3 separate regions of the Homo sapiens genome follow, and regions 2 and 3 are each linked to region 1. The links are contacts of gene promoters, found by promoter capture Hi-C in blood cells and fetal thymus (Javierre and others, 2016). All regions are on one chromosome and are shown on one strand. Each heading gives the region's core, a stretch centred on a gene start or on the middle of the fragment in contact. The rest is flanking DNA. Distances are from core to core; before and after follow the strand shown. Region 1 holds the start of EFHC1 (EF-hand domain containing 1). Region 2 overlaps GCLC-AS1 (GCLC antisense RNA 1). Region 3 has its middle 16 kb from the start of LINC01564.

Region 1 (3,079 bases), core at 312-2,811:
TCCACACCTCTGTAATTCCCTGTATCAACTCAGCCCTGTCTATACTCACCAACACCAAAAGCTTAAGCTCATCCTGTATAGGGCAGGCAAGTGCCTACAACATTTTCTAAATTACATAAAACTGAAAAGTCCACTGAAACTAAAAATCTATGATGTTGTGTCTTAATGCAGGGATAATTACAGAGATTCAGAATACAAATTCTCTCACCAAACTTTCGATTTCATTCTAAATTGATTCTTCCAAAGAAAATAAATTGACAAAATATTTTAACTTTGTGAAGCTGGAGAGGAAGGCAAGAGTTTAAAGTATTAAACTATATAAACATAAACTACTGTTAGCTCATCTATGATGATCAGTCTACTGAATCTCATTATTGATTTTTCAGCACATACATTTCAGTAGCCCTGTCAGAATTAAAACAAACCAAATAATTTTAAGAGCTAAACTGTGGCAAGAGTTTAAAAAAAAAAAAGAATCCAAGCTGCTGCTACTTTTTAAAAAATTTTGTCTAGAAAATGCAAATAAAAACACAAGGTTGGGGAAGGAGCAAAACAAAATCTAAACAGGAATCTTTTTACAAAAACGTTAGAATAAAAAGAACAGGGCCGGGGAAGAATAAACAGCAACTAATCAATTCTTGAGGGAACTGGAAAGGAATATCTCTTACAAAGCAGGGAAAGATGCTTTGGGAGGAAGGTGAGCAAGTTTTGGGGAAAACCCGCAACGGAGAAAGAAAGGAATGGGGAGAGGATGGGACTAAATTGTGGAAAATGTAGAAGATGGAGAAAAAAGAATGGGGTTGGATGCAAGCATAAAGAAGAAAGGAAAAAGACCTGGCGGAAAGAAGAGGAGCGGAATCGATATACATACAAAACAGGAAATGGAGCTGGGAGTGGGAGATACTACCGGGTACAGGATTCAGAAGAGGAAGAGGTGGGGCGGGAATGACGGACCTGTGGGAATGAGGTTGAAGGTGCATAGTGGCGGGGGGTTTTAAGGGCGGCGATGGACGGAGACAGGTTATGATGTGAGAGAACGAGCTAGGGAGAGGGCCCAGAGATAGGTTGGGAGTAGGGTGGGGGAAACAGTGATCTAAAGGGACAAGAGGCAGGGGCTTGGAGGAGCAGGGCCGTAAGAAAGAACGCGGCTAACGGGATGAGAATGAAGGCGCCAACACACTGCCAAGATGGAGTGGGAAAAAACTAGAGAGGGATGAGGCGGAGGGCAAAGGATCGGAGAGAGGGGATGAGGATGGCTAGGGAAGAACGGCAGAAGTTCGGCCCAGAATAAAGAACAGGGTCAGGACAGAAGACGTGTTTGGAGAGAAGACAGACTTGAGTGGAGGGGAATGGAGGTGCACTGAGCGGGGAAACCTCCTGGGCTGCTGGAAGGTGGGGACAGGTGGGAGTCTGGCAGATAACTGCTCACCGTAGAGTCCTTAAAGGACGTGCCCGGAAGAAAGGGCAAGCCATGCACGGGATTGGACACCATTGCAGCCGGTACCACCGCCGCCACCTAGGTCCTGCTTCGTCCTCTCCGGTTGCCCAGGCGACAAGCAGTGTTCGCGGGCACCTCCAGGATCCATGGTAACGCTAAACATCCGGAACTCCCACGAGCGGAAGGCGGGGCCAGGAGGCGCAGGCATCACAGGAGGTTTGCGCGTGCGCCATCCGCAGGACTCCGCGTTCTCGCGGTAAGTGGGCCGCGGCCTTGGAGCGCGGCTAGTGGGCGTGGTTGTGTCGGCCCCTCCTCTTCCGCTTCGCCCCGCCCCGCTCCCGGAGGATGAGACGTGGGAGCTGTTGGGTGGCGCGGGGAAAGGCGGGTGTAGCGAGGCGGTAGTTCTCGCTGTGAGATCCGGGGTCCGAGCAGGCCCTTAGATGAGTTGCAGAGAGGGACGTTCCTTCTCTCCTTCCACCTAGTCCTGGCGGACCTCACTGCGCCCCGCCAACGCTGTGAGCTCAGGCACTCTTTTCTCCCCCCTCTGCCCCATTTCACACAGAAGTGTAAATGGTCGGTCCAGTTGGCAGTGCTACTAAACTAGACCCATGCTTCTTGTAGGCAGGGGCCGAGGATTACCCATGATTGTGTTTCTGTTGCTCAGGGATGGTCAATGAACTAATGCAATCATCTCATCCTTAATTCTCCCACTGCCACATTGTATTTTTCCCCTTTTAACTCTTTTTTAAAATCAATCTTTCTCTTTCTTTCTTTCCTTTCTTTCTTTCCTTTCTTTTCTTTTTCCTTCCTTCCTTCCCTCCTTCCCTCCGTCCCTCCTTCCCTCCTTGCTTCCTTCCTTCCTTCCCTACTTCCCTCCTTCCGTAGAGATAGTGTCCCACTATGTTGCCCAAGCTGGTCTCGAATTCCTGGGGTCAAGCGATCCGCCCACCTCGCCTCCCAAAGTGCTGGGATTACAGGCATGAGCCACCGCGCCCAGCTCTCTTTATTCTACCATCAATCCCTTCGGTTAAACACCTTTGTTTTTGTAGGGAAAGCCTTGAATATGTGCTGCAGGGCAGGGTGCACTCTGATAGGTACTTGATTTTTGTTGACTGAAGAGCTGCAGGTTGAAGGGTGGTCACCTCAATCCCTCGTTTGTACCTGCAGCTGCAATGAAAAAGATCAGAACCACTAGGAGGAACACAGCTCCTTCAAAGAGAAAGACTAAGTCTTGGGAAAGAAGCAGATAAGTGAGGTGAAATATTGTCAGCATCATAGGTATAGCCTTTGATGCTTTTTACAAAACTTGCTTAAATTATTTTTTCTTAAAAGAAACATAATCCTATTCCTGAAACATTTTTTTTGGGGGGGGGGGGAGAAAGCTATCCATCATTGCTGAGGAGCTTAAAAATAAAAAGTAATCAAAACCCACGTGCCGAGAGATTTGGATTCATTAGGTCTGACATGGAGGCCAGGAATCTGATTTTTGTAACAGGCGTTTGTGACAAGCCAGTTTAGGAACATGATAGAGTAATAAGCCAGACACAGAAGGCATATCTCAGTGTCACAGGTAGTTTACTGCCAATACAGACAGCAGCTTTACTTTTATTGCTGCTTGTCAGAGCAAATCCCCCTGTTGGG
Region 2 (3,082 bases), core at 124-2,623, 1.1 Mb before region 1:
ATCACATTCAGGAGACGGTGTAATTGTACCAGATGAAGTCTGTACTCATATAATCATACCAGTGGACATTTATTGCACAAATCTAAATGCTTTCCATGTGGCATCTCAGTCTTTACTAGAACCCCTGCAGTAGGATATTATGATTGCCATTTTGCCAGTAATGAAACTAAAGCATAATCAGGTTAAGCAACTTGCCCATTTTTTTTTTCAATCCAAGACAATCCTGATTTGGCTAATCTTGACTGATATTTTGGTGCTTATATATAAAGAGCTCTGGATTATTTGTCAAAAGTCTTGAGGGGGTGGGCACAGTGGCTCATGCCTGTAATCCCAGCACCTTAGGAGACCAAGGCGGGAGGATCACTTGAAGCCAGAAGTTTCAGACCAGCTTGGGCAATATAGTGAGATTCCTGTCTCTGCCCAAAAAAATAAAAATTAGCTGGGCACAGTGGTGTGTGAGTGTAGTCCCAGCTACTCAGGAGGCTGAGGCGGAAGGATTGTTTGAACCCAGGGCTTCAAGGTTACAGTGAGCTACAAATGTGCCATCGCACTCCAGCCCGGGCAATAGAGTTAGATCCTGTCTCAAAAAAAAAAAAAAAAGAAAAGAAAAGAAAACAAAAGTCTTGGGTTCTAGTCCCACTTTACTGCTGATTAACATTTTAACTTGAAGAGTGATTCAATCACTCGGTTGCCCCACTTGAAAAAAAAAAAAAGCTGGAGTACATATCTAGAATCCTTACCACACGAACATTCTATATTTTTGGTTCTTTGACTCTAAAATGGTCAGCTTAAAAGAGTGTTTTCCATCCCTCTTTTGGCTGTTAGAGCCATCCCTGGTGACTTTACCCCTTTCCCCTGAACCTTTCATATGTTTATTGAGCATCCACTCCAGTTGTGCACTGGTGTTTGTTTTCACGGGGTTACTGGTACCCTCCACCCTCACCCCTCTTTCTCCCTGCAGAAAGCTTTTCTAATACTTTCAGCCGTGGTCAATTTCAGGTGATAGCAATGGTAATCATTTATTGAGTACTTACCAAATGCTAGAGACTGACACAGGCTATGTCATTTTTTCAATACCAAGCCCTGTGAAATGGGTACTATCAGACCATTTTTACACCTGTGGCTTAGAAGACTTAAATGTCTAGTGTAAGGGCGGTTGTAGTGGTAGGCAGAGGCAGGTCTCAAACCCTCGCCTACCTAACTCAGACACACTTGGCAATACTATATATCTCTTTAAGCCTTTCAGAGGATATGTTTTAGGAGGTGGATTGTTCCATTTTATATATATATGAACATGATAGACAGACAGATAGATAGATAAATAGATAGAGATAATTTTAAACGTGCTCACTTTCATTTATGAAAATTTACATTTGATAACTAAAAGAGCCTTGCAATTCCAGCATCTCCCTCATGGTGGCAGTAGAAGACTAAGTCATGTACACGCAGCCTCCAGCACCAACAACTAACCCAGAAGAAACCTCCTTAATAAATCAGCTTTTGGTCAAGATTGGTGTTACGTAAAATGCAAAATTAGGACCCTCGGAAGGGGAAAAAAAGAGTCTCAAGTATCTAGGTTATTGACCCCAGAAACAAAAGAAATTTGACAAACTTGCAAAACAGAGACAACAACTTCCTATGGGGGAAAAAAAAACAAAGCAACTACTTGTTGCTGCCCACCCGTTTAGTAACTGGCCTTGGTAGTCTTCCAGCAGCAAGCACAATAGCCTTGTCCACAGATGCTTTTCCCATTTCCTCGGTCCCCTTGAAACCAAGCTTTTGAGAACAAATAGTTTATTTCTCCTTTCTTAATTTGCTCTGAAGGTTTTTAACACAGCGATAACTGGCATATAGAAATTTCACATATTTTTCTTGATCACTATGGCCTATCAACCCCCGCCTGATGATTAAATGAAGGACGATGTATCCAAGGTTCTTAAAGAACTTGGTTGCAACGAATGAACACAAAAAACACCAGACAATAAACATGTATTGAATTATATCTGGGTACAGTAGACACCATTGGGCAGACTTCAGAATTAGCCCCCGGAAGTTTTGCTTTTGCTTGACTCTTGGTCATAGCTGATTGGACTAGAAGTGAACACCTGACTCAGGAGGAGGAAGTTCATTGGCTGACCAGGAGCCAATTAGGGTCTCTCTCTTGAGAACTCTGACTAAGAGACAGAGATGCAGGTTATTTAGTCCAGTTGCGGGTGTAGCATTAGACAGATATAAAACCCAAGAACTCTTGGTACTGAGGCCTGGTTGTTCAACTTTCCTCGGATTTTAGGGGGTGACCAGGATCCCTCCCAGCAAAGTATCATTTTTGTTTAAGCTTAATTTCAGTGGGTTATGTTACATGCATTCTCCATCAAAGACTCCAAGCCCTGTGCAAAGTGCAGTGAGGGCATACAAAGAATTTATGACATTTCCCTGCTCTCCTGGGTATGGGTAATTTTCCTTGCTGTAGAGAGAACAGGGTCTCTGGAATTCAACCCACCTTTGTGACCCTGTGAATGTTCCTTTTTTTCTCTCTCAGAGATTCAACTTTGTTCTCAGTAACATGGAAATGATAGCATCTGCCTAACAGTCATTTTGAACAGGAAGCGTCCCTCTGGCCGGGTGCCTCGTGCATGGCAGATTATCAGTAAATGTCAGCCTCTGCACTGCTTTGCAAGTAGGTCCTTTGGCCGCTCTCAAATGCAAGTCACACAAAGATTGTGGGAGTTTTTTTTTTTTTTTTTTAAATAGAAAATACATCATTCCTATAGAGAAAAAAATACAGTCACATTTAATAATGGCTGTTTAGACAGGGACAGGTTCTCTCGAGCCTCTGGAGGTGGTGGAAAGTGGAGGTGGGTCACTGATCCCAAGAAATAAGCTACAGGACTGAGGCCAGTTTCTGGAGAGGGGATGGTCACTCCTATATTTAAGCCAATAGTGAAGGTTAAGTAGGAGAGTCCAGAGGGACCCTTGAGCCCACTTGCTTGACAATATTGGTGCAGGACAAGTCTAACCCTCCTAACTGGGCAGCTGCCCCCTCCCAATAGTGGTCTCTCTTATGGAGAAAATTTTTACCCGA
Region 3 (3,225 bases), core at 2-2,501, 1.2 Mb before region 1:
TCTCAAGTTTTATTCTGCAATATTAATGAAACGTTTCCATTTTTTGCAGAGTTCCAAACTGAAAAATGCTTTATTTCATTACAATTCTGCATATAAGTAGCAAAGAAAATTCTGTATGCCAAAAGAATCCTTTGTTGTTTAACAAATGTTCATTAGACATAATTATTTCCCAGCCTCATGCCCCTGATCATATTCTGTCTTTCTCTGCCCTGCTCTGTGCTCCGTCCCCTAGGGACTACATCATCCAGACTCAGGCTCTTTGGCTGAACATTTTATTCATCCAACGGGAGGTATCAGAAGGAGGTCAGAGGGCAGAAGCAAGTGGTTGGGATATTTTTTTCTGCCCTCTTCAGGCTTCAGCACTGTGCTTCTGGCCTAGGCTGTAACTTTCAACAACTCCAGCCCAGTGGCCTTTCCTCCCTTGTTCAAATCTCGCCATGCTTACGTGCCATCATAGCTTACCATCTCTGGATATTTTCCTGTTGATTTATGTTCTGCCATCTCTTTTAGAATATCATCCTTAAAGGTGAAAATTTTGTCTCGTTCACAGATGTACCTCCGGTGTCTAGAGTCATGCCTGGTGTATAGCAGGAGATCAATTTTTTGTGTGTGAAGTAAATAAGTGAATGAGTGAATGAAACAATAAAACCATCATGACCTACTGCTTGCTGATCTCTATTCCAATATTACTCATTTATTTAATCAGCAAATACTTATTAAGCATCTACTGCATGCAAAACACTTTCCCTTACCCCAGTAATCACTAGAGGGAAGCACATTAAAGTACACAACCATGATAACTAGGACTTTTCCAAACTTGCTGCAAGCCAAAAATTAAATTGTTAAGACACATTACAGGTGGAAGGAGTTATGCAACCAACACTTTCCATTTCTCAAAAAAAAAAAACTCAAAAGATTGATATCTCTATAGCTATGTCCCCATTAAAATTTTTTAAATTGCATGCATCTTCTCTATAATTGCCAATTCTTCAAAAACAGGTTAGGACTAGCTTCATCATTTAGCTAGTAAGCATTTATTCAGTGCTTACTAAGTACACACACACACACACATCATTTAAGTGTGAGTGTGTGCATATATACATATATTCTGCGTGTGTGTGTGTGTGTGTAAAATATATGGTCTTATGCTTGCATTCTGAAATTAAGAGCCATTATGATTACATCACCTTGTCTCATATGAGAGCTAAATAAGTTAATAGGTAAAGTTCATTTCTTTAAATACTTCTCATGGGCAGCCATGTTTTCAGAGACACGGGGAAACCTGAGAAGGTAGAGCCTACACACAGATACCCAGGGGCCTTTTTCTGACTCAAAAATGAGAGATAAACAGGGACTCCTGGAAGCAGAACCCTTGCAGCCCAATCCCTGGTGCCCTTCGGAACCCCAGACCAGTCTCCATTGAAGGTGTTTCATTTCCCTCATGGGTAAAAATACTGAGGACAAGTCACTCAATGCAGAGTCCTTGGAGATGGACAGTGAATCTCTGGGCCTGAGTCTTCCAGAGACACTTGGAGCGCAGTAGTCCATTCTCATGCTGCTAATAAAGACATAACTGGGACTGAGTAGTTTATAAAGGAAAGAGGTTTAATTGACTCACACAGTTCAGCATGGCTGGGGAGGCCTCAGGAAACTTACAACCATGGCTGAAGGGGAAGCAAGTACATCCTTCTTCACATGGCGGCAGCAACAAGAAGTGCTGAGCAAAAGGGGGAAAAGCCCCTTATAAAACCATCAGATCTCGTGAGAACTCACTCACTATCACCAGAACTGCCCCCATCATTCAACTACCTCCCACCGGATCCTTCCCCCGGGGATTATGGGAACTACAATTCAAGATGAGATTTGGGTGAGGACATAACCAAGCCATATCAAGGAGAGTGAGATATTGCATAAAGAAATAAGGGGTGGCAAATTCAGCTGAAAGAAGGACCGGCTCCTGCTTTGGAGGCACTCCACAGAGCCACATTTCTGAAGATGGTGAGGTGTAATGGAGACTGATCCTGGGACAGCTTTGGGAGCCTGCTGGAGATGGCAGGGCCACAAATGGACAAACGGAAAGAGTTACTATTGGAGGGGAGCCTCCCCATGTGGGACTGCTTGTTTTGAACAGGGACAAACTAGCTCCACCGAAAATCCATGAAATGTTAAGGCATTGCCAATTTCCATCATTCCCCCTGAATTCTTAAATTAAAATCCCACTTGATAAATTAGTGCCTTTGATGAAGCCATCCAGTCCTCTGCCCCTGCCTGCCGGCACTGACCAAATACAAAAGAAAGAGGGAGTCTTGAGGGGAAGGAGAGCCCTGTGACCTCTGCAGGAAGATCAGGGTTCCAGGCTGCAGAAGAAAACTTTAAATCAAGGGAAGAATGACCTTGCCCAGGGCTTTAGGCACATGGGTCCTCCGCTGCAGCATGTGCCACTGTCACTCCCTGACATGCGCTATGCAGAGAACAGGTATTACACAGCACTGCTTTGATGTCTCCCAGGTTTAATGTAGGGCCAAATAGGGCCTAGAGTGGCCAGAGCTCACAGGCTGGTTCCTCTGGCTGTGGCCGGCCTTTTCCATTTTTCCCTAATGCATTGTACAAACATTATCTCTTTCCATTTGTGCAGTGGGTAGAGCAAAGTTACAGAGCACTACTTTATAAAGCCTGGCCTCCCCCTCTCCCAGCCCCACTGATGCCTTTTGCTTAGTCACATGTTTGGGTCAAAGACAGAACACTCAGCAAGGTTCAGTGTGGTTGGCTGTGGCTCACAGAATACAGGCAACCAGGGGCAGAGCTGCAGTACTCATTAAAACCGTGGAGAGCTTGCTGACTGCCTCAAAAATCAGCAGTCCTGAGTATCTGTGCCGTGCTCTGCTAGTGTCTGAATGCTAGAGAGAGCACTCTACTCTTTTTAGACTTCCCAGAGATTCTAGTATCTGCTGCTATGACTGTTTTTTGTTTGTTTTGTTTGTTTGTGACAGGGTCTCACTCTGTCACCCAGGCTCAAGTGCAGTAGTGCTATCCTCTGCTGACTGTGTCCTCAACCTCCAGGCTCAACTGAACCTCCCAAGTAGTTGGGACTATAGGTACATGCCACCATGCCTGGACTGTGACTGTTTTTATAATAAAGACCCAACATACTTTAAGGAGGGGAAAAGAGCTGGCCAAACGATTTTCTGCCTGGGTCACAGAATATGGTAAAGTCAGGGAGAACAT

Evidence for each region. Contacts are between HindIII fragments. The CHiCAGO score rates a contact against its expected background, and 5 or more counts as called.
Region 2: a fragment that was not itself captured here is called in contact with the fragment with the promoter of EFHC1 in region 1 in 2 of 17 cell types (fetal thymus and non-activated CD4 T cells); the score reaches 5.9 in fetal thymus.
Region 3: a fragment that was not itself captured here is called in contact with the fragment with the promoter of EFHC1 in region 1 in 1 of 17 cell types (non-activated CD4 T cells); the score reaches 7.0 in non-activated CD4 T cells.

The regions. Positions count from the first base shown.
Region 1 is chr6:52,418,824-52,421,902 of GRCh38, reverse strand. EFHC1 (EF-hand domain containing 1) reads right to left here and starts at 1,561. Exons shown (of 11, transcript NM_018100.4): 1 at 1,430-1,561. The coding sequence starts at 1,492. LOC124901331 (a long non-coding RNA gene) reads left to right here and starts at 922. Exons shown (of 2, transcript XR_007059611.1): 1 at 922-1,694. RefSeq lists an enhancer at 1,001-1,592. The HindIII fragment of the contact is 6,560 bases long and covers 64-3,079 here.
Region 2 is chr6:53,483,167-53,486,248 of GRCh38, reverse strand. The region is part of intron 3 of GCLC-AS1 (GCLC antisense RNA 1); the gene reads right to left. Among named protein-coding and RNA genes, the nearest start is that of GCLC-AS1, 53 kb to the right of the region's middle. The HindIII fragment of the contact is 811 bases long and covers 968-1,778 here.
Region 3 is chr6:53,643,117-53,646,341 of GRCh38, reverse strand. No RefSeq gene overlaps it. Among named protein-coding and RNA genes, the nearest start is that of LINC01564, 16 kb to the right of the region's middle. RefSeq lists an enhancer at 2,577-2,871. The HindIII fragment of the contact is 4,292 bases long and covers 1-3,225 here.